6 separate regions of the Homo sapiens genome follow, and all the other regions are linked to region 6. Evidence: promoter capture Hi-C in 16 types of primary human blood cells and fetal thymus (Javierre and others, 2016). All regions are on one chromosome and are shown on one strand. Each heading gives the region's core, a stretch centred on a gene start or on the middle of the fragment in contact. The rest is flanking DNA. Distances are from core to core; before and after follow the strand shown.

Region 1 (3,287 bases), core at 673-3,172, 210 kb before region 6:
AGGTTTTGCCATGTTGGCCAGGCTGGTCTCAAACCCTGACCTCAGGTGATCCGCCTGCCTTGGCCTCCCAGAGCATTGGGATTACAGGCGTGAGCCACTGTGCCCGGCTGCTATCTTATATAATTATACTATAATATAAGATCCTATTTTTTTTTTAAGAGACAGGTTTTCGCTCAGACGCCCAGGCTGGAGTGCAGTGCTGTGATGCTAGCTCACTATAAACTTGAACTCTGGGCTCAAGTGATCCTCAGGAGGAGGATCCTAGCTCCTGGGTAGCTAGGACTACAGTCACGTGCCACTATGCCTGGCTAATTTTAAAATTTGTATAGAGATGATATCTCGGTTTGTTGCCCAGGCTGGTCTCAAACTCCTGGCTTCAAGTGATTCCTCCACTTCAGCTTCCAAAAATGTTGGGACTAGGTGTGAGCCATTGCACCTAGACTGATCCATTTTAAAACTCTATTTTGAATAAAATTTTCAGGGGTAAAAAAGGTTTTTTTCTTTTCCTTTTCTTCCTTGCTTCTTTCTTTCTTTTTTTTTGAGATGGAGCCTTGCTGTGTCACCTAGGCTGGTATGCAGTGGCGCGATCTCGGCTTACTGCAATCTCTGCCTTCCAGGTTCAAGCCATTCTCATGCCTCAGCCTCCCAAGTAGCTGGGATTATAGGCATGCACCATGATGCTTGGGTAATTTTTGTATTTTTAGTAGAGATGGTGTTTCACTGTGTTGGCCAGGCTGGTCTCGAACTCCTGACCTTAAGTGATCTCCCGGCCTTGGCCTCCTAAAGTGCTGGGATTACAGTCATGAGCCACTGCGTCCAGATGGAAAGTATCTTTTTAAACTTTATATCCCTCCCTAGAATTTATCCCCTAATATATGGTGTTTATGGAGGTGGTTGGAATCAACTACTTTTTATAAATATATTATTAAAGAGTTGACAACCCCTAAAAATCTTTTAGATGCTAGACAAAAAAACTGAGAGAAATCATGAAGTATTTTTTTAAAAAATTTTTTGAGATGGAGTCTCACTCCAGTGACAACCCAGGTTGGAGTGCAGTGGCACGATCTCAGCTCACTGCAACCTCTGCCTCCCAGGTTCAAGCAATTCTCCTGCCTCAGCCTCCTGAGTAGCCGGGATTACAAGCGTGCGCCACCACGCCCAGCTAATTTTTGTATTTTTAGCAGAGACGGGGTTTCACCATGTTGGTCAGGGTGGTCTCGAACTCCTGACCTCATGATCCACATGCCTCAGCTTCCCTAAGTGCTGGGATTACAGGTGTGAGCCACCATGCCTGGCTAGTCATGAAGTATTTTAAAGGACGTGGGTTCTGACACTCTTAAATTCAATAGGCCAAAGTTCCTGGCATTTTTTTCTTGGATATGTACCGCATAGACCTTTCTTAGTAGATACTGGGAGAAAGAAGTTGGTTTAATAATGAATTAATGGGAAAGTTTTTTTTTTGAGACGGAGTTTCGCTCTTATTGCCCAGGCTGGAGTGCAATGGCCCGATCTCTGCTTACTGCAACCTCCGCCTCTAGGGTTCAGGTGATTCTCCTGCCTCGGCCTCCCGAGTAGCTGGGATTACAGGCATGCACCGCCAAGCCCGGCTAATTTTGTATTTTTAGCAGAGATGGGGTTTCTCCATGTTGGTCAGGCTGGTCTCGAACTCCCAACCGCAGGTGATCGGCCCACCTCGGCTTCCCAAAGTGCTGGGATTACAGGCGTGAGCCACCGCGTCCAGCCTGGAAAGTTTTAATTGACCTTATGTCTGTATAATTAAATGTATTTCATTAACTTTTTAAAGGTAAATAAATCTGGGGTTTCATCTAAGTGTCAAAAATATGATTTTCACCAATGGCCTACTTATTTTTGCCATTATTTGCATAAATAGCTTTCTGGTTTTTCTCAAGTTAACCTGTATGCTTGTGATGTGAAAGTCATAGTATGTATAAAAAATAGTACCAAGATGAAGTATAGATGGTCATTCTGAACCATTATTCCTTAGCAGAGTGAACTATATTTAAGGTTTTAGAAATAAATCGTATTTCCATGTCTGAATAAGACCTTAGTCTTATTTAAATAAATGTAGGGGAGATGGAGAGAAAGAATAAGATTTGCCTAAGAATACTAATATTAAGATGAATGGCAGGTAGGACACACTGAGGCTGTCAGGCATTGTTCTCAGTGTTTTACATTCACCATCTTGCTTCATCCTCACAACAGACTTTATCATTTGATTAGAAAAAAATCAGTACGATCTAGATGTTCTCATTGAATAACATTTTTTCATAAACAATTTAATTTCATTTAATTTATATTGTTACTATTTTTTATATAAGTAAATATGAGGTCTCACTATGTTGCCCAGGCTGGTCTCAAACTCCTGGGCTCAAGCAGTCCTCTCACCTCGGCCTCCGAAGTGCTGGGATTACAGGCATGAGCCACCACATCTGGCCCTGAACTATTTTAATGCAACAAGTATTTACTGAGTTCCGATAAATGAACCAAGTCTGGTGCTTTAGAACCATGATCTCAAACTGGAGGACATGTCTAAGAATATCTAGGCTTGGACTGTTTTAAGAGAATAAATTTCCAGATTCTCTATATTTTATTTATACTCTTTCCTGAAATTGACTTGTTTGAAGGCAACACTGATATAATGCTAGTCCACCTTCCCTACCCTCCCTTTAGCCCTGTGCCTTCTTATGATTAACAGAAGACAGCCATACCTTTCACCCATCTTGAATCTCACCATTGTACCTTTCTATGAGGTATAAAATCCTCCAGGATTCTAACAAAGGGATAGTCAAAACACTAGTGTCACGTGTGAAACTTCCTTTTATCAAGGTATCTTCCTCCATACATCTTATTAAGAGATGCATCTCCAAAAAAGGAAATTACTTTTTATGTTTAGTTCTCAAAATTTGTAACATTTGCATTGTCTTCATCGATTGTGTTTTACTATAATAGTAACCATACCACAATCCAACATAAATAAACAATAATATACATGTTTTCATTAAGGAAAGTATGATAAAAGTTATATTAAATACTGTGGAAGAAGCAGAATAGAAATACAGTTTCAGGGAGACCGATAAATGGCATAGCATTTTATATAGGAAAAAAAGATTCTGTTACAGTTTTAAAATATAGGATGGGGGATATCAGATTGCCCAGGTGTTTAGATTTTATTGGAATTAGTGATACAGTAGGGTTTTTTGTTTGTTTGTTTGTTTTTAAGACAGGGTCTTGCTCTGTTGCCCAGGCTGGAGTGCAGTGGTGCGATT
Region 2 (3,468 bases), core at 469-2,968, 240 kb before region 6:
TGTCTGTATTTGAGCTTTGCTAGGTAGTTGGCTTTTGTGTTTGACTGAAGATTTTTTCCAAAGAAAGCAAATAGCTATTAGGAAAAGAAAGAGTCAGCAAATTTCTGTATGCTTTCATGGAAGAGATTTCCCAATTAGAAAGCTTTTGTAGGCTTAACCTTTTGCCCTAAAGTAACCCAACATTTCATTATGTATTCCATTGAGGTTTTGGAGCTCGGCACCAGAAAGCGAGGACCAAGGTTGAATGTGAAAGGAATATTCAGAGGATGAAGCTCATAGTCAACAAAGTGCTGCTTCATAGGCTAGGTCCAAAAATAACCTGCTTGCCATAGGGAGCAAGAATGGAGGTAGCATTAGCTGCTGTTTTGAGCAGTGTTTCATGTCCTGTCATGTCATTCCAGAATGGTTTTTTGGTTTTGTTTAGAGACAGGGTCTTGCTCTGTTGACCAGGCCAGAGTGCAGTGTGGTGTGATTGTAGCTCACAGTCACCTCAAACTCCTGGGCTCAAGTGATCCTCCCATCTCAGTTTCCTGAATAGCTAGGACTACAGACACACACCATTGCACTTGGCTAGTGGTTTTATTTTTAGTATAGACAGTGTCTCGGTTTGTTGCCTAGGCTGGTCTCAAACTCCTGGCCTGAAGCAGTTATCCTACCTTGGCCTTCCAAAGCACTGGAATTATAGGCATGAGCAGCCACACCTGGTCTCATTCCAGAATAATTAAAATTATGTTTAAGGCAGCCGGGTGCAGTGGCTCATGCCTGTAATCTCAGTACTTTGGGAGGCCGAGGCGGGTGGATCATGAGGTCAGGAGTTCAAGACCAGCCTGGCCAATATGGTGAAACCCCGTCTCTACTAAAAATACAAAATAAAAATACAAAAATTAGCCGGGTATGGTAATTAGCGGGTGCCTGTAATCCCAGCTACTTGGGAGTCTGAGGCAGAGAATTGCTTGAACCCGGGAGGTGGAGGTTGCAGTGAGCCAAGATCGCGCCACTGCACTGCAGCCTGGGTGACAGAGTGAGACTCCATCTCGAAAAAAAAAAAATTGTGTTTAAGGCAATATCATTTAAAATTTTATTTTGGGAGAATGTTGCCTTGGTAAATTGGTAAATAACAGTTGTTCTGAAAGGTTTCGGAAGAATGCCTTTCTGCTAAATTGAAGAAATTAACATAATTTACTCTTCTGTAAATAGGGGGATGGTCTGCATTGTGCTCATTTAATCATTGGAGTTCAAATTAATGATTTGCTGGGGTCCTGTGGTGAATCTTGAGTGATTAAGAGGGAGAACTCAGTCCTTGGTTCAGAAAAGTTAGCATTGGAATGGATCCTCAACAGGCCCTGAAGGTAGGAAGTGTTCTGATTTAGAGAGCTCTTCCAAGGCTTGTGATGGAACCCTGCAACGGTAAGTTTTACGAGTATCAGTAACTGGCCGGGTGCAGTGGCTCACACCTGTAATCCCAGCACTTTGGGAGGCTGTGGTGGGTGGATCACCTAAGATCAGGAGTTGGAGACCAGCCTGGCCAACATGGTGAAACCCCGTCTCTACTAAATATGCAAAAATTAGCCAGCCATGGTGGCAGGCGCCTGTAATCCCAGCTACTAGAGAGGCTGAGGCAGGAGAATTGCTTGAACCCAGGAGGTGGAGGTTGCAGTGAGCCGAGATCGTGCATTGCACTCCAGCCTGGGCAACAAGAGCAAAAAACTGTCTCAAAAAAAAAAAAAAAAAAAAAAAAAAGCCAGGCTTGGTGGCTCACGCCTATAATCCCAGCACTTTGGGAGCCAATGTGGGCAGATCATAAGGTCAGGAGATCGAGACCATCTTGGCTAACACTGTGAAACCCCATCTCTACTAAAAATAAAAAAAAAATTAGCCAGGTGTGGTGGCGGGCACCTGTAGTCCCAGCTCCTTGGGAGGCTGAAGCAGGAGAATGGCGTGAACCTGGGAGGCGGAGCTTGCAGTGAGCCGAGATCGTGCCACTGCACTCCAGCCTGGGCAGCAGAGCTGAGATTCCTCAAAAAAAAAAAAAAAGAAAAAAAAATAATCAATAACATAGAATGTGGATATACATAGCACATAGATACGTATAGCAAGTCAGGAAGTTTGCCTAGAAGGAATAAATTAACTCTTGTTACTTGGTGAGATCATGGAAGGGAATGTAATTTGTTTTAGGTGGTGGTAATTGTGAGTTTGAGGCTGGCCCAGGAAATGAGTTGTCAGATATGCTGTCATCCTCATTAATGGTTCAGCTTATTTCTCAGGTTTATAGTTGTATGAGGAGATGCTATGCCTACCCCATTTAGGGAACTATTAGGTTCAAAATCATAAAAGCTAAAGAAGAGTGAAATACAGTGAAAAGTATCCTGTTCACACATACCCCATGATCATCCAGATTTCCCTTCCCAGGGGCAGTTGATATTATCTGTGTCTTATATGTCTTGAGATAGTTTATGTGTATAGAAGTAAATGTAAATATCTACTACTTATTTCCTCTTTTAACACAAATTATAGTAAATAATATACAATAGTCTGCATCTTACTTTTTTCACTCTCGTATCTAATGTTAAAAAAGCTACGTGGTATTCCAATGAAAGGATGTATTATATATATTTTTTAGATATTTCATTTGAGTTGTTTTTTTTTTTTGTTTTGAGACGGAGTCTCTCTCTGTCACCCAGGCTGGAGTGCAATGGCGCGATCTTGACTCACTGCAACCTCCACCTCCCTGGTTCAAGCAATTTCCCTGCCTCAGTCCCCTCAGTAGCTGGGATTACAGGCTCATGCCACCACACCTGGCTAATTTTTTTTTGTATTTTTAGTAGAGACAGGGTTTCACCATGTTGGCTAGACTGGTCCCAAACTCCTGACCTCAGGGAATCCTCCTGCCTGGGCCTCCCAAAGTGCTGGGATTACAGGCGTGAGCCACCACGCCTGGCCTTGAGTTGTTTCTAAGCTGTTGCTAATAAAACAATGCTAGAGGATTTAAAAAAATATGTTAGGGTTTTATATTGACAAGTAAATATTGTCATAATAGAAACTTGCTATACTTATAATAATAATACATCTATAGAACATGTTCATAAATGTCTATTTGAGCCTTCCTGTAAGGTAAGTACAACATTTTATCACTTCATAACTAGTAAAGTGGCAGAAGTAGAGGTAGAACCAAGGTCTTCTGACTCCTATTTGAGTATCTGTCTACTTTACCCAAAATACATATACTGTTGTGGGGCTGTAGGGAAGTGGGGGTGGGAAAATAAGAGGAAGTAGACCTAGGTGGGGCAAGCTTGAGATAGGGATGTATCTGTCATTCTAGAAATTGGGATCCTGTTTGCTAGGAGTAAGTGGAACTGGACATCAGCCTGTTACAGGGACATAAAGGCACTTAGGCACTGGCAGAGCACTATGGTTTGATTGCCATCTTGGAGTACAGTAGTATGGTAAGCCAAAGAGTGGTAGTTCTGG
Region 3 (3,739 bases), core at 1,040-3,539, 190 kb before region 6:
ATCACTTAAAAAATAAATGCTGGCCTGGTGCGGTGGCTCACGCCTGTAATCCCAGCACTTTGGGAGGCCTAGTGGGTGGATCACCTGAGGTCAGGCATTCGAAACCAGCCTGACCAACATGGTGAAACCCCGTCTCTACTAAATATACAAAAAAAAAAAAAAAAAAAAAAAAAAATTAGCCGGGTGTGGTGGTACATGCCAGTAATCCCAGCTACTTGGGAGGGTGAGGCAGAGAATCCCTTGAACCTGTGCAGTGGAGGTTGCAGTGAGCCAAGATCGCGCCATTGCACTCCAGCCTGGGAAACAAGAGCAAAACTCTGTCTCAAATAAATAAATAAAATAAAAATAAAATAAAATAAAATAAAATGCTGTATTCATTGGCCATTGCCCAACTGATTTTTGATAAAGATGCAGAAGCAATTCAGTGCAGGAAGGATAGCCTTTTAAATAAATGGTGCTGGAGCAACTGGACAGCTATAAGACAAAAAAAAAAAAAGGAAAAAAGGAAAAATCTGACCTAAACTTCACACCTTATAAAAAAATTAACTGAGAGTGGATCATGGACTTAAATGTAAAACATAAAACTAAAAAAAATTTTAGAAAATAACAGGAGAAAATGTTTAGGATATAGAGCTAGGCAAAGAGTTCTGAGACTTGACACCAAAAGTATGATCTAGAAAAGGAAAAATTGGTAAGTTGGACTTCATAAGAACTAAAACATTTTGGTCTGCTAAAGACCATGTTAAAAGGCTGAAAAGGCAAACTACAGACTGGGAGAAAATATTTTTGAACCACATATCCAATAAAGACTACTGTCTAGAATATATAAATAACTCCAAACTCAGTATTAAAAAACCCCAAGTAATCCAATTAGAAAACAGCAAAAGATGTTAAGGAACATTTCACTGAAGAGGATATACAGATGGCATGTAACCCCATGAAGAGATGTTCAACATCATTAGCCGTTAGGGAACTGCAAATTAAAACCACAGTGAGATATCTCAAAATAGAGTTTAATTTTTAAAAAGCCTGGGTGCACTGGCACACACCTGTAATCCTAGTACTTTGCGAGGTTGAGGTGGGAGGATCACCTGAGCCTGGAAAGTCGAGGCTGCAGTGAGCTGTAGTCCTGCCACTGCACACCAGCCTGGGCAACGGGAATGAGACTGTGTCTTAAAACAAATTGTTTTAAAGGAAAAAATAATATCATTAAATTCAGTAAATGCAGGAAAAAAGGCTAAAGCAGAAAAAAACCACATGTGATCTCAATAACTGTATATAACTTCCAGTAACATTTTGTTGTATTTTATACATTTTTTTGCCCTCTGCATTTTTATATTATATAGTTAACTGAATATGCAGTTGTGTCTTGCTTTTTTCACAATACTCAATATCATGAGTATTTTTATCACTTAAAATTATCCATGAATATAGATTTTAAATGGCTCATAATCTTTGTTGTATGGATGTACAGTAATTTATTTAACCATTCCTTTCATATGTTTAAAGTAGTTCCATTTTGTTGCTATTGCAAATAATGCTGTGAGAAACATTTTTGTATGTAAACTTCTGTCAGGATTTCTGATTCCTTCCTTACAATACATTCTTAGAGGTAGAATTACTGTGTCACGACGTGGGCATCTTAGAGGCCTTTGTTAACTATACATTGCCAAAATACTTTGCAGAAATATAGTTTCGATTTATGCCCCTTTTATATTCTTACATTTCTCCTTTCTCTAGGAAAATAAATGTTCATGTTACTCACCTTCACTCAAGGTTTCCAAACACTTTTTCTTGGCTCTCCTCCTACAACTCTGTTCTCAGCTTTCCAAAATTGTTTCTCTTTACTCCTTAGATATCTGGGTTTCCTTAGGTTCTGTGCTCTCCCTCTTCTCTCTATGTATATTCTTCTTTGAGCTAATCAGAACCAGCCCCTTGCCTTCAACTACAGTTTACATCATAATGACTCCTAAATCCCATATCTCTGCTGAGTTTTGGGAACCAGTTCTAACACCATACTAGATATTTTTACCTTATGCTACATAGCCATCACAAATGTAACTCCCTTATCCAAAACTGAACTCATTATCCAACCACACTAACTTCATCTCCACTGATGGCAGTATGACCCATCCAGTGGTAGAAGCCAGAAGTTTGGGAGTTAGCCTAGATTTCTCCTTGAATTTTGTGTACCACTGGTCAATCATTACATTTTAAGATTCTGCTTCCAAAATAGCTCTCTAATTTGTTACCTCCCCTTTCCACTGCCTTAATTTAGGCCCTCATATTTTTTGTACTGCTGCATTGGTGTCTTAACTGATACGCCCATTTCTGACCTAGTTCCATCCCTCAGTTTCATCCTTCACATTAAAACCATTTTGTCTTTTAATTTTTAATTTTATTTTTGAGACAGGGTCTGGCTCTGTTGCTCAGGCTAGAGTGCAGTGGTGCAATCTTGGCTCACTGCAGCCTCTGCCTCCTGGGTTCAATTCATCCTTCCACCTCAGCCTCCTAAGTAGCTGGGACTATAGGTGCTTGCCACCATGCCCAGCTAATTTTTTGTAGATCCAGGGTTTCACCATGTTGCCCAGGCTAGTCTCAAACTCCTGAGCTCAAGTGATCCACCTGCATCTGCCTTCCAAAGTGCTGGGATAGGCTGGGCACAGTGGGTCACACCTGTAATCCCAGCACTTTGGGAGACCGAGGTTGGCGGATCACTTGAGGTCAAGAGTTCGAGACCAGCCTGGCCAGCATGGTGAAACCTTGTCTCCACTAAAAATACCAAAATTAGCCGGGCGTAGTGGCGGGTGCCTGTAATTTCAGCTACTCGGGAGGCTGAGGCGGGAAAATCACTTGAACCCAGGAGGTGGAAGTTGCAGAGAGCCGAGATCACACCACTGTGACAAAGCAAGATTCAATCTCAAAAACAAAATATACAAAATGCTGGGATTACAGGTATGAGCCACCATGCCTGGCCCAGTTTGTCATTTTAATGCATGCATGTCAGCATGTTTCTCACCGTCACTGTCTTCTGTCTCCTGTAAAATAAAGCCTGTTCTCTGTAGCATGGCACCCATGAGCCTGGTCTTGATTTCCTTCCTCCAGGCTACTTTCATGATTTATCCCTGGCCATGCCTGATATGGCTCCCAGTCATGCTGAGCTAGTTTCCTCAACATATTAGAATTGTTTTTCAGGCCTTTATGCTTTTGCTCATGTTTTTTTTTTCCTTGACATGCTTCTTTCTTCTATCCATTTGCCAGATTTCTTTCACATCCTAAGATTCAGGTAACATCATAACCTCCTATGGAAAGCAAGCCCTCTATAGGAATTGTTAAGGGCTTCCTTGTCTGTGTTCCCACTGTGCCATGTACCTACTTCTTTCTGCCACCTCCTACATTGGTGTACTTTTGTTGTTGTTGTTAAGCTGTCCCTATTATACTAGATTGTAACACATGCTTTCTACCGCCTAGAGCAGGAACTGTGTACTCTTAATTGTTTCCTGAGGGCTTGAGATTAGCATCTGGCATGTAGTAGGTGTTTAATAAATATTTCTTGAGTAGATGAAGATATGAGTGAATGAATGAAGGGTTTCATGCTGAAAAATGAAAAAAGGGTTTAACTTTAAGAAAAAAGTCACAGATTTTGGAGTCATAGGAATTGAGTTTGAGTCCTACCGTCATTTCTTAGTGTTGATATAATTTTAAGCAGGTTGTTTCCCTCCTCTGATCTTTAGTTCTT
Region 4 (3,577 bases), core at 377-2,876, 160 kb before region 6:
AGATAGTCATACAGTCAAGTGACATAAACCTCAGAGAAGAGGAAGGTTTCCGTGCTATCGCCCCACCCACTAGAGTGGAAGAACTTTGAGGGAGATAGAATAGTGATATTATAATCTAGTTCCTATAGATAAAGAATGTTTGCCAAGAAGGTTAACTTCTGTAGCTGAGCTCCTTTGCTGAGAAGATGAAGGAACACTGTTTAATGGATAGATTTAGTCTGTGATTCTCTGTGGAGGTGATTACTGTCAGTTCTCTTTATCCTAGCAGCATTTGGAAAACTGCAGCTAAGCAACCCGTCGTCATTTCCTAATGTTACTATAATCTGGTGTCAATGACTAATGATCTCATTGGGCTAGTTATTCCCTTCCAGCGATGCTGGCATCAGGAAGCACATTAATAGTCTGTAAGAAATGCATTCATTAAAAACCAGGTAATCACTTTGGAGCTGGTCCTGGCAGTGTCTGAATAAATTGGACAAGTTAGAGAAAATCTTGAACCTGAAAGCTACTTTGTCTTTCAGCTTGGTTTGGGCAAGGTAGGAAGAGATGAATCAGTTATAATTTGATGGGATCTAATGTTACTTTTATAAGATACATCACTTTAATATGATGCTTCATCATTAATGTTTTAGTAATCTGACAGCATTAGACAGAATTGATATTCCCCTTATTTTATTATTTCTTGGCTTCATGACAGAACTGTGCATTAAAAGGCACTTAAGATTTTAAAAGGGATATCTAAGAAAGTGGTTAAAAAACAAACAAATCCCAAGTGGCTTGATCTGACTTACAAACTCTAACAATGTGTAGCTAATTGCAGATAGATTTTATTATTCACAGTATTGTGTCAAGTCTCCTGTGCACATCTTCTGTATTGGAGCATAAGTAATGGAGATGTTATCTTGCCCAACATTAGGTTTGAGGAAGTCGTTTTTAAGACAGAAATAGTAGAACAGTGTTATTCCATACTGTACTTTCCCCTTTTATATAAGCTTGCTAAAATTAAGGTTGGGCAATAGGCCCTTGAGCTAAATGTGACCTGATAGAAAGTTTTAGCAACAATGAAAAAAATTATAACTATCTAATATACATATCTAATATTAGATATTTACCTTACTTACATATCATGCACAATCAAACAAATGGCAATTATAACTACATTCTTTTTTACTTGCCATAATGGAAAAACTTTATTAAACAAATTATGCCCACTGTTGCTCTGGGATTTGGGGACTAGGTAGGCATGATTTCAATGGAAAATAATTTAGTAATGGTATGTCTCAATAATGTATCAACAACCTGGAAAGTATATATTCTTTGACTTAGGATTTTCATTTCTAAGAATTTGTCTTATAGAAATAATAGTAGGTCAAAACAAGAATGTAGTCATAAGAGTATTTACTGCAATGTTGTTTAGAAGAGGGAGAAAACAAATGAAAATGGGCTGGGTGCAGTGGCTCACGCCTGTAATCCCAGCACTTTGGAAGGCTGAGGTGGGTAGACCACTTGAGGCCAGGAGTTTGAGACCAGCCTGGTGAAACCCCATCTCTACTGAAAAAACAAAAAAGAAAAGAAAAGAAAAGAAAACAAAATGCCACAAAAAACAAAGAGATGAAAATGAAAAGAGATCTCACAAGACATATGAATATGTTGCACTTCAAACTGATGCAAACAGGTGTCCATCTAAATTCAATAGTGGGCAGTTAGAATTTGAAACTTAGTTGTCATTGATGATTGCCCTGTGCTCAGAGGAATCACAGATTAAAAAAATTTTTTTTAGAAAGAATTGAAGTTGAGTTTCAGAAAAGTCAGACATTTAAGTTTACAACCGTAGTTGGAGTGCAAACACATATATGTCTTAATTACAAAATGTCTGTTCTGTTAGTACAACTTAGCATAAAGAAGAGATGGACCTACAAGTGAAGTATATCAACTGATAAGAAACAAAATGCTTTAAAACTTTGGATTCAAACCTATGATTCCAGAACTGTTCTAACATTTTAAACAATATGGTCAAACTCTAGGCAAGTTTGGTTCCCTTGTGTTTGTGAAACTATATTTTTCATACATCTTCTGAAGTAAAAACTAAACACTCTCATTAGTTGTTTAAATCTGGAATTGGATTTGGAATTTGCCTTGATTTTATATACCTTTGTTCTTGAGGCTACCTGTATTTGTCAGTTTTATCTTAACTTACTCAAAATGGGTCACTTAGTAAAAATAATTGTCTAACTATACACTTTTAGTTTGATTAAGCTTTTTGGATTAGTTTGGGATTTTGACTAAGTTTCTATATTTGTATGATCAATAATTTCATACTTATAGTAAACAAAAATTTATATATCTGTACTCCTATAGATTTATGATTCTGTGGCTCTAAAAATTTCAGTGCTCTTAGAGTTGTGGAAAGAGCAGAGCACTAGATTAAATGAAACCTCTGTGTGCCAGGCCCTAGCTGGGCTTTCTCGAGGCATTAGAGTGATAAAGTTGGTTGAGGAAATGGTGAAAGCCATACCTTTGTCCTGCCATTTTTTTTCTTTATGAGATCATGGTTGAAGTCCCTGACTCTCATGATAGTGAAATTGAGATTTTAAATATTTGTTTCTCTTTACATCCCAAATCCATTATAGCTAAGAGGAGGAATTTCAGATATTTTTCCAAGAGCGGTTGTCAATTTTTTTTTTTTTTTTTTTTTTAAGACGGAGTCTTGTTCTTTCGCCCATGCTGGAGTGCAATGGCATGATCTCAGCTCACTGCAGCCTTCGCCTCCAGGGTTCAAGTGATTCTCCTGCCTCAGCCTCCTGAGTAGCTGGGACTACAGGCGTGCGCCACCATGCCTGGCTAATTTTTTGTATTTTTAGTAGAGACGGGGTTTCACCATGTTAGTCAGGCTGGTTTCAAACTCCTGACCTTGTGATCTGCCTGCCTCAGCCTCCCAAAGTTGTCAGTATTTTACTTACTTTTCTTTCCTTGCATATTGGAATAGCTTTTTTTTTTTTTTAAATTATCATATACACTACCTGTGGAGGTAAAAACATAAACTGTTGTTTTCTTGGAGGCTGAGGCAGGAGGATCACTTGAGCCCAACAGTTTGAGACCAGCCTGGGTAACATAGCAAGACCCTGTCTTTATAAAAATAAAAAGAATTACTGGGTGGTGTGCACCTGTAGTCCTAGCTACTTGGGAGGCTGAGTCAGGAGGATTGCTTGAGCCCAGGAATTTAAAGCTGCAATGAGCTATGATTATGGCACTGCACTGCAGTCTGGGTGACAAAGTGAGACCCCATCTCTAAGAATAAAATAAAATGGAATTAACATTCACTGTCAACAAAGGCACTCTTGTGCCGTTTTTGTCCCCTTCTTGACTGTCCTGGTCGTATGAGATCTGTTTTTCCTCTAAATTCATTGTATACTATTTTCTTTACATTGTACATTTGGCCATCTCTGGGAAAATGTTAAGAATGTTAATGTTCTCATTTTAGTATACTGATATCTCACTTTTCAGAATATCACCTTCCTAATCTTTTTCTTTAGTCATTTTATCCAGTTGTACTTATGTAAGCTACCATAAACTTTTT
Region 5 (3,722 bases), core at 667-3,166, 140 kb before region 6:
CCAGAGGACAAAGAAACCCTAGATTTCTTCGTCTTTTTTTAACTAAAAAGCAGAGATTTTTGGGAGGCGAGGGCCAGAACTTCCTGTATCTATTCTTCTTTGAAGAGCCCAACTCACCTAAGAAATTTCTGGCTGGGCATGATGGCTCATGGTTGTAATCCCAGCACTTTGTGGGACTGAGGAGGGAGGATGCCTTGAGCCCAGGAGTTCAAAACCATTCCAGGCAACATAACGAGACTCTGTCTGTATGAAAAGGAAGGAAGGGAGGGAGGGAGGGAGGGAGGGAGGGAGGGAGGAAGAAGAGAGAAGTTTTCCCTTGTGTGTGCTGCTTGTAGGCTAGTGGACTTGATTCTAATGAAGCCTTTGCATGTCTGCTGATCCGGAAATATTTGGCCTTTTCCCAAGGCTCTATGGCTTTGGGAAAATAATGATGAAATACCTATTTATTTTTTATTTTTAATTGTCCTATTTTATATGTTTGATTTTTGTAAACACCTCAGCCCTTTTTAAAAAGAAATAGTTGGAATATAAACATATATTCTCATTAATTAATAAATCAGCTGGATGACTAGTCCAAACTATTATTCCATTATCATTGTCACTGCCCTGTAACTTATTTTAGTTCTGTGTTAGTTATATTTACCTGTTGTTATTTTGCTAATTTGATAGTTTATTGTGAAAACAATTTTTAATATTTGTCTACTGACATTTTTTAAAATAGAAAAAAATTCTCCTAAACCACAATCAGAAATCTTTTCATTTGATTCATTAACAGTTACTAAAACACCACAACTGCGTTCTGGGTCCTAGGCCCTGTAGGGGGGCTCACACAACTTCACTAAACACCAGCCTTAGCAGAGGAAGATAACTATCAATATCTGGAATGTCAAGAACTAGAAGAAACAAGATAATGTGGTCCTAGCAGACAGATAAATGGGATAGATTCAAGAATTCAGAAATAAAACCTTACACTTATGGTCATTTGACTTTTGTTAAGTCTGCAAAGATAATTCATTGGAGAAAGAAGAGTCTTTTCACCAAACAGTGCTGGAATAAGTGTATATCCATGTTCAAAAGAATGAAGTTGGACCTTTGCTTTATACCATATGCAAAAATTAACTTCAAGTGGACCACAAAACTCTCTAAGAGTTTTCATAGAGTTTTATAGTTTTAGCTCTCACATTTATGAAGAGAAGAAAACATACGAGCAAACCTTCCTGATTTGGAGTTAGGCAGTGGTTTCTTAAATAGACTACCAAAAGCAGAAGGGACAAAGGGAAAAATAGATAAATGGACTACATCAAAATTAAAAACTTTTGTTCTGCAGACAATACCATCAGAAAATTGATGACAACCCATAGAATGGAAGAAAATGTTTGCAAATCGTACATCTGATAAGGGACTTGTATCTAGAATATATAAAAACTTTTATAACTCAATAGTAAAAAGTCTAATAATTTAAAAATAGAGGAAAGATTTCAATGTGTAATGCCCCTCAAAGTGTATGCAGTTAGTCCACAAACACATGGAAAGATTCTCAGCATCATTAGTCATTAGGAAAATGCAAATGAAATCCTCAATGAGATACCACGTATCCACTAAGATGGCTGTAATAAAAAAAGATGGACAATAACAAGTGTTGGTTAGGATATGTGGAAAGTAGAACTTTCTGGCATTGCTGGTGAGAGAGAATTTAATGATGCAGCAGCTTTGTCATTTCTTCAAAATGTTTAATGTTCCAAAAAATGTTAAAAGTGGAATTACCATATAACCCAGCAATTCCACTGGTAGGTATAAACCCAAGATAAGTGAAAACACATTCACATAAAAATTTTATGAATGTTCATGGCAGCATTATTCATAATAGCCAAAAAGCAGAACAACCAAAATGTCCATCAACTAAAGAATGGATAATTAAAATTAATATATCCATACAATGGAATATTATTTGGCAATAAAAAGTAATGAAGTACTGATACATGCTGCAAGGTGAATGCCCCTTGAAAACATTATGCCAAGTAAAAGAAACAAGTCACAAAAGGACCAGATATTGTATGATCTCATTGAGATGAAATATTTAGTATAGGCAAATTTATAGAAAGAAAGTGGATTAGTGGTTGCCTAGGGCTGGTGGAGGGATAGGAGTGGGGGAATGAGGAGTGACAGCTAAACAGGTATGAGGTTTTTTTCAGTCGGAACAAAAATGTTCAGTTAGATTGTGATGGTTGCACTATCCTGTGAATTTATAAAACACGTTGAATTTTACACTTTAAATTGGTGAATTGCATGGTATGTGAATATCTCAATAAAGCTGCTTTTTTTTTTAAATAACTAGAATACAAAGAAAGCAGGGAAATTCTTGCTGAGGAGAAATACTAATGTGATTATTTGTCTTGTTAATGAATTTCATGTCCTCGTTCGGGCTAAATATTTGTCAATTTTTAAAAAAATCTACTTTCAGAAAGAGTTTCAGGTATCTTTAACAGAAGATCAACAGATTAAAACAAATTTAAAAGAATTAGGGCCAAATAGTCTAGGGAAGAGGAGAGATGGATACTATTTTACCAGAAAACTTAGGCTAAGTAGAGCTACCACAGTTCACTTAGCTTTTGCTTTCTGGCAGTACAGGCCAACAAGAAAACATGGATTCCTTAACTAACATTATTAAATAAAAGGAAAAAATACAATTGAGAAAACCGATTTCCCAGCACCACACTGTAAGTCAAAACTTAATACCCTGTGACTTGATATCAGGTTCACAAAACTATGTCTAAAAGAAAAATTCTTCAATAATACATTTTTAAAAAAGATTTCAAGGCCAGGTACGGTGGCTTATACCTGTAATCCCAGCACTTTGGGAGTCCAAGGCAGATCACTTACAGCCAGGAGTTTGAGTCCAGCCTGGGCAATATAACAAGACACTGTCTCTACAAAAACAAACAAACAAACAAACAGAAACCCCTATGGTGGCACATGCCTGTAGGCCCAGTCGCTGGGGAGGATCACTTGAGGCCAGGAGGTTGAGGCTGTAGTGAACTGTGATCGTGCCACTGTACTCCAGCCTGGGTGACAAAGACCCTGTTTCAAAAGGGGGAAAAAAAGGGTTCCAAAGTGTTCTTTATATGGAAACCATTTTGATTCTGGATATAGGTCTAGTGAGTCTAGTGAAGAAATGTTGTTTGTTAAGCGATCTGGTTACTTGAACTGACGGAAAGCAGAAAGCTGTTGTTTAGTCTGGTATCTCCAACATTAAATAGAAGTTTCCTAACAAAACAATTTAAGACTGAATTTGAATGTAGTGCTAGAAGAGCAGAGCATTCCATTATGATGTTTGCAGTTAACTATTTTAGAATAGCTTTAGATGTGTAGAAAAATTGCAGATACAGTACAGAGGTCCCAAATACCCCACGGTCAGTTTCCTCTATTCTTATTATCTTACAGTAATATGATACATTTGTCATAATTAATGGACCAATATTAGTACATCCTTATTAAAGTTCATACTTTACTCAAATTCCGTTAGTTTTTACCAAAATGTCCTTTTTCTGTGTCAGGATCTTGTCCAGGATACCACACGCCATTTAGTCACCATGTCTCCTTAGGTTTCTCTTAGCTGTGACAGTTTCTCAGTCTTTTCTTGTTTTTGATGACCTTAATGGTTTTGAGTAGTACTGGTCAGGTATTGTAGAATGCTCCTCAGTTGGAATTTGTCTGATGTCTTT
Region 6 (3,062 bases), core at 563-3,062:
CATCCTCACATCTCTTTCTCTGACTCTGAGGCCACTGCCTCCCTCTTGTATAATTAAGGACCCCTGTGATGACAATGGGCCCACCTGGAGAATCCAGGCCAACCACCCCATCTCCAGGTCCTTAATCACACTAGCAAAATCTTTTTTTGCCATGGAAGGTAGCAAAGCCACAGGTTCCAGGGATGAGGCTGTGGACATCTTTGGGGAGCGTTATTCTGCTTGCCACACAGTAACCCCTGCCATAACTCAGGGCGATGGCATATTCTATCATTATCTTCAATCAGAAACTGATGTGTGGGGAGGTGATGTATCATAACTCATCCAGGGTCAGGCAGCTGGATTTGAACCTGCCTGACCCTTAGATTTGAGGTTTTCTGGCTCCAGAATCTTCTCTGAAGTGAAAGGCATGAGGCCGACCACTCCCTGATCTGGTAAACAGAGATGTCAGCCTGGTTTCTAGTGTTAGGGAGTTTCCTGGAGTGATGGTACAGGGTACATTTCTGCCCTGCATCCCAAGTCCAGAGACTGGGTTCTAGGTCCAGCCTTTCTTCTAACTCCCTGAGAGATGACAGCCTCTGGGCAAAGTCCCTCTGTGCTCTTCAGTCTCTTCATCTGTGAGATGGTGGCATGGGGAGAGGCTGGAGTGATGTCACAGTTCCTCTCAGCCTGCATCACAGGCTCTAGGACTCAGGTCCTATCAGTAACCTGCTGGGGGAGGTCTGGGCCTTCCAGGAGAAACCTGACAAGATGGTGCTGCAAACACCAACGGACACACAGCACTTTACATTCACAGGCTGTCTCAGGGGCCTCCAACAACCCTGACCATTCTTGCCCCATTTTGCAGATAGAAAACCGAGGCTCAGAGAGATTATATAACTTGCCCACGATCTTCCTCCAGCAAGATGGAGGCCAAGTGAAATGAGAAAGCAGGTCTCCTGCCACTTCCTTTGCCCAGAGGTCTTCTCCCCACACCAGGGCTTCCCAAGGGCTGAGATCCAGTCACACCTGTGCGTGATCAAATATAAGTGTGAACAATGCAAAGGGAGACGTCTTCAATCTAAGGGGCTTCAATTCTGTAATGTAATTCTGAGATTATGCCCTTTTTTGTTAAAGCCTTTCCTTTTTGAAGTGATGGTCACTGTAGATGGTGAGGGTTTTTTGGAGGCGGACAATATCTTTACATGACAAAATTAAAAGTTGGCAGCTCCGAATTGATCTCTGGAGTGTTTTGAAATGCAAGAGGTCTCCGAAACCTCAGTCTGGGAGCCACGGAGGGCTCTCCCCTCTCCCCAGGTTTACCAGTTTGGGAGGCTTGGAGAGAGGCCTGGAGGACCTGCTGGGGACTAAAGAAGAGCACTGGTGGGAGGACAGGGCGGGGGAAGGGGGAGGGGAGTGAAGTAGTCTCCCTGGAATGCTGGTGGTGGGGGAGGCAGTCTCCTTGGTGGAGGAGTCCCAGCGTCCCTCCCCTCCCCTCCTCTGCCAACACAATGGACAATGGCAACTGCCCACACACTCCCATGGAGGGGAAGGGGATGAGTGCAGGGAACCCCGACCCCACCCGGGAGACCTGCAAGCCTGCAGACACTCCCCTCCCGCCCCCACTGAACCCTTGACCCCTGCCCTGCAGCCCCCGCAGCTTGCTGTTTGCCCACTCTATTTGCCCAGCCCCAGGGACAGAGCTGATCCTTGAACTCTTAAGTTCCACATTGCCAGGACCAGTGAGCAGCAACAGGGCCGGGGCTGGGCTTATCAGCCTCCCAGCCCAGACCCTGGCTGCAGACATAAATAGGCCCTGCAAGAGCTGGCTGCTTAGAGACTGCGAGAAGGAGGTGCGTCCTGCTGCCTGCCCCGGTCACTCTGGCTCCCCAGCTCAAGGTTCAGGCCTTGCCCCAGGCCGGGCCTCTGGGTACCTGAGGTCTTCTCCCGCTCTGTGCCCTTCTCCTCACCTGGCTGCAATGAGTGGGGGAGCACGGGGCTTCTGCATGCTGAAGGCACCCCACTCAGCCAGGCCCTTCTTCTCCTCCAGGTCCCCCACGGCCCTTCAGGATGAAAGCTGCGGTGCTGACCTTGGCCGTGCTCTTCCTGACGGGTAGGTGTCCCCTAACCTAGGGAGCCAACCATCGGGGGGCTTTCTCCCTAAATCCCCGTGGCCCACCCTCCTGGGCAGAGGCAGCAGGTTTCTCACTGGCCCCCTCTCCCCCACCTCCAAGCTTGGCCTTTCGGCTCAGATCTCAGCCCACAGCTGGCCTGATCTGGGTCTCCCCTCCCACCCTCAGGGAGCCAGGCTCGGCATTTCTGGCAGCAAGATGAACCCCCCCAGAGCCCCTGGGATCGAGTGAAGGACCTGGCCACTGTGTACGTGGATGTGCTCAAAGACAGCGGCAGAGACTATGTGTCCCAGTTTGAAGGCTCCGCCTTGGGAAAACAGCTAAAGTAAGGACCCAGCCTGGGGTTGAGGGCAGGGGTAGGGGGCAGAGGCCTGTGGGATGATGTTGAAGCCAGACTGGCCGAGTCCTCACCTAATATCTGATGAGCTGGGCCCCACAGATGGTCTGGATGGAGAAACTGGAATGGGATCTCCAGGCAGGGTCACAGCCCATGTCCCCTGCAAAGGACAGACCAGGGCTGCCCGATGCGTGATCACAGAGCCACATTGTGCCTGCAAGTGTAGCAAGCCCCTTTCCCTTCTTCACCACCTCCTCTGCTCCTGCCCAGCAAGACTGTGGGCTGTCTTCGGAGAGGAGAATGCGCTGGAGGCATAGAAGCGAGGTCCTTCAAGGGCCCACTTTGGAGACCAACGTAACTGGGCACTAGTCCCAGCTCTGTCTCCTTTTTAGCTCCTCTCTGTGCCTCGGTCCAGCTGCACAACGGGGCATGGCCTGGCGGGGCAGGGGTGTTGGTTGAGAGTGTACTGGAAATGCTAGGCCACTGCACCTCCGCGGACAGGTGTCACCCAGGGCTCACCCCTGATAGGCTGGGGCGCTGGGAGGCCAGCCCTCAACCCTTCTGTCTCACCCTCCAGCCTAAAGCTCCTTGACAACTGGGACAGCGTGACCTCCACC

What was found. Contacts are between HindIII fragments. The CHiCAGO score rates a contact against its expected background, and 5 or more counts as called.
Region 1: a fragment that was not itself captured here is called in contact with the fragment with the promoter of APOA1 in region 6 in 7 of 17 cell types (total CD4 T cells, total CD8 T cells, naive CD8 T cells and 4 more); the score reaches 8.0 in total CD4 T cells.
Region 2: a fragment that was not itself captured here is called in contact with the fragment with the promoter of APOA1 in region 6 in 6 of 17 cell types (total CD4 T cells, total CD8 T cells, naive CD4 T cells and 3 more); the score reaches 10.5 in total CD4 T cells.
Region 3: a fragment that was not itself captured here is called in contact with the fragment with the promoter of APOA1 in region 6 in 2 of 17 cell types (total CD8 T cells and activated CD4 T cells); the score reaches 7.1 in total CD8 T cells.
Region 4: a contact is called between a fragment that was not itself captured here and the fragment with the promoter of APOA1 in region 6, in 2 of 17 cell types (total CD8 T cells and non-activated CD4 T cells). The highest score is 5.7, in total CD8 T cells.
Region 5: a contact is called between a fragment that was not itself captured here and the fragment with the promoter of APOA1 in region 6, in 1 of 17 cell types (total CD8 T cells). The highest score is 5.0, in total CD8 T cells.

Annotation. Positions count from the first base shown.
Region 1 is chr11:117,046,831-117,050,117 of GRCh38, reverse strand. All of the region lies in intron 1 of SIK3 (SIK family kinase 3), which reads left to right. Among named protein-coding and RNA genes, the nearest start is that of SIK3, 50 kb to the left of the region's middle. The HindIII fragment of the contact is 9,138 bases long and covers 1-3,287 here.
Region 2 is chr11:117,074,113-117,077,580 of GRCh38, reverse strand. The region is part of intron 1 of SIK3 (SIK family kinase 3); the gene reads left to right. LOC124902763 (a long non-coding RNA gene) reads left to right here. Exons shown (of 2, transcript XR_007062899.1): 2 at 1-1,188. Among named protein-coding and RNA genes, the nearest start is that of SIK3, 23 kb to the left of the region's middle. The HindIII fragment of the contact is 3,147 bases long and covers 145-3,291 here.
Region 3 is chr11:117,028,124-117,031,862 of GRCh38, reverse strand. The region is part of intron 1 of SIK3 (SIK family kinase 3); the gene reads left to right. Among named protein-coding and RNA genes, the nearest start is that of SIK3, 68 kb to the left of the region's middle. The HindIII fragment of the contact is 9,274 bases long and covers 1-3,739 here.
Region 4 is chr11:116,997,590-117,001,166 of GRCh38, reverse strand. All of the region lies in intron 1 of SIK3 (SIK family kinase 3), which reads left to right. Among named protein-coding and RNA genes, the nearest start is that of SIK3, 99 kb to the left of the region's middle. The HindIII fragment of the contact is 1,264 bases long and covers 995-2,258 here.
Region 5 is chr11:116,973,789-116,977,510 of GRCh38, reverse strand. The region is part of intron 1 of SIK3 (SIK family kinase 3); the gene reads left to right. Among named protein-coding and RNA genes, the nearest start is that of SIK3, 120 kb to the left of the region's middle. The HindIII fragment of the contact is 4,363 bases long and covers 1-3,722 here.
Region 6 is chr11:116,836,372-116,839,433 of GRCh38, reverse strand. It overlaps APOA1 (apolipoprotein A1), which reads left to right and starts at 1,812. Exons shown (of 4, transcript NM_000039.3): 1 at 1,812-1,829; 2 at 2,027-2,089; 3 at 2,277-2,433; 4 at 3,023-3,062. The coding sequence starts at 2,047. It also overlaps APOA1-AS. The HindIII fragment of the contact is 2,883 bases long and covers 1-2,212 here.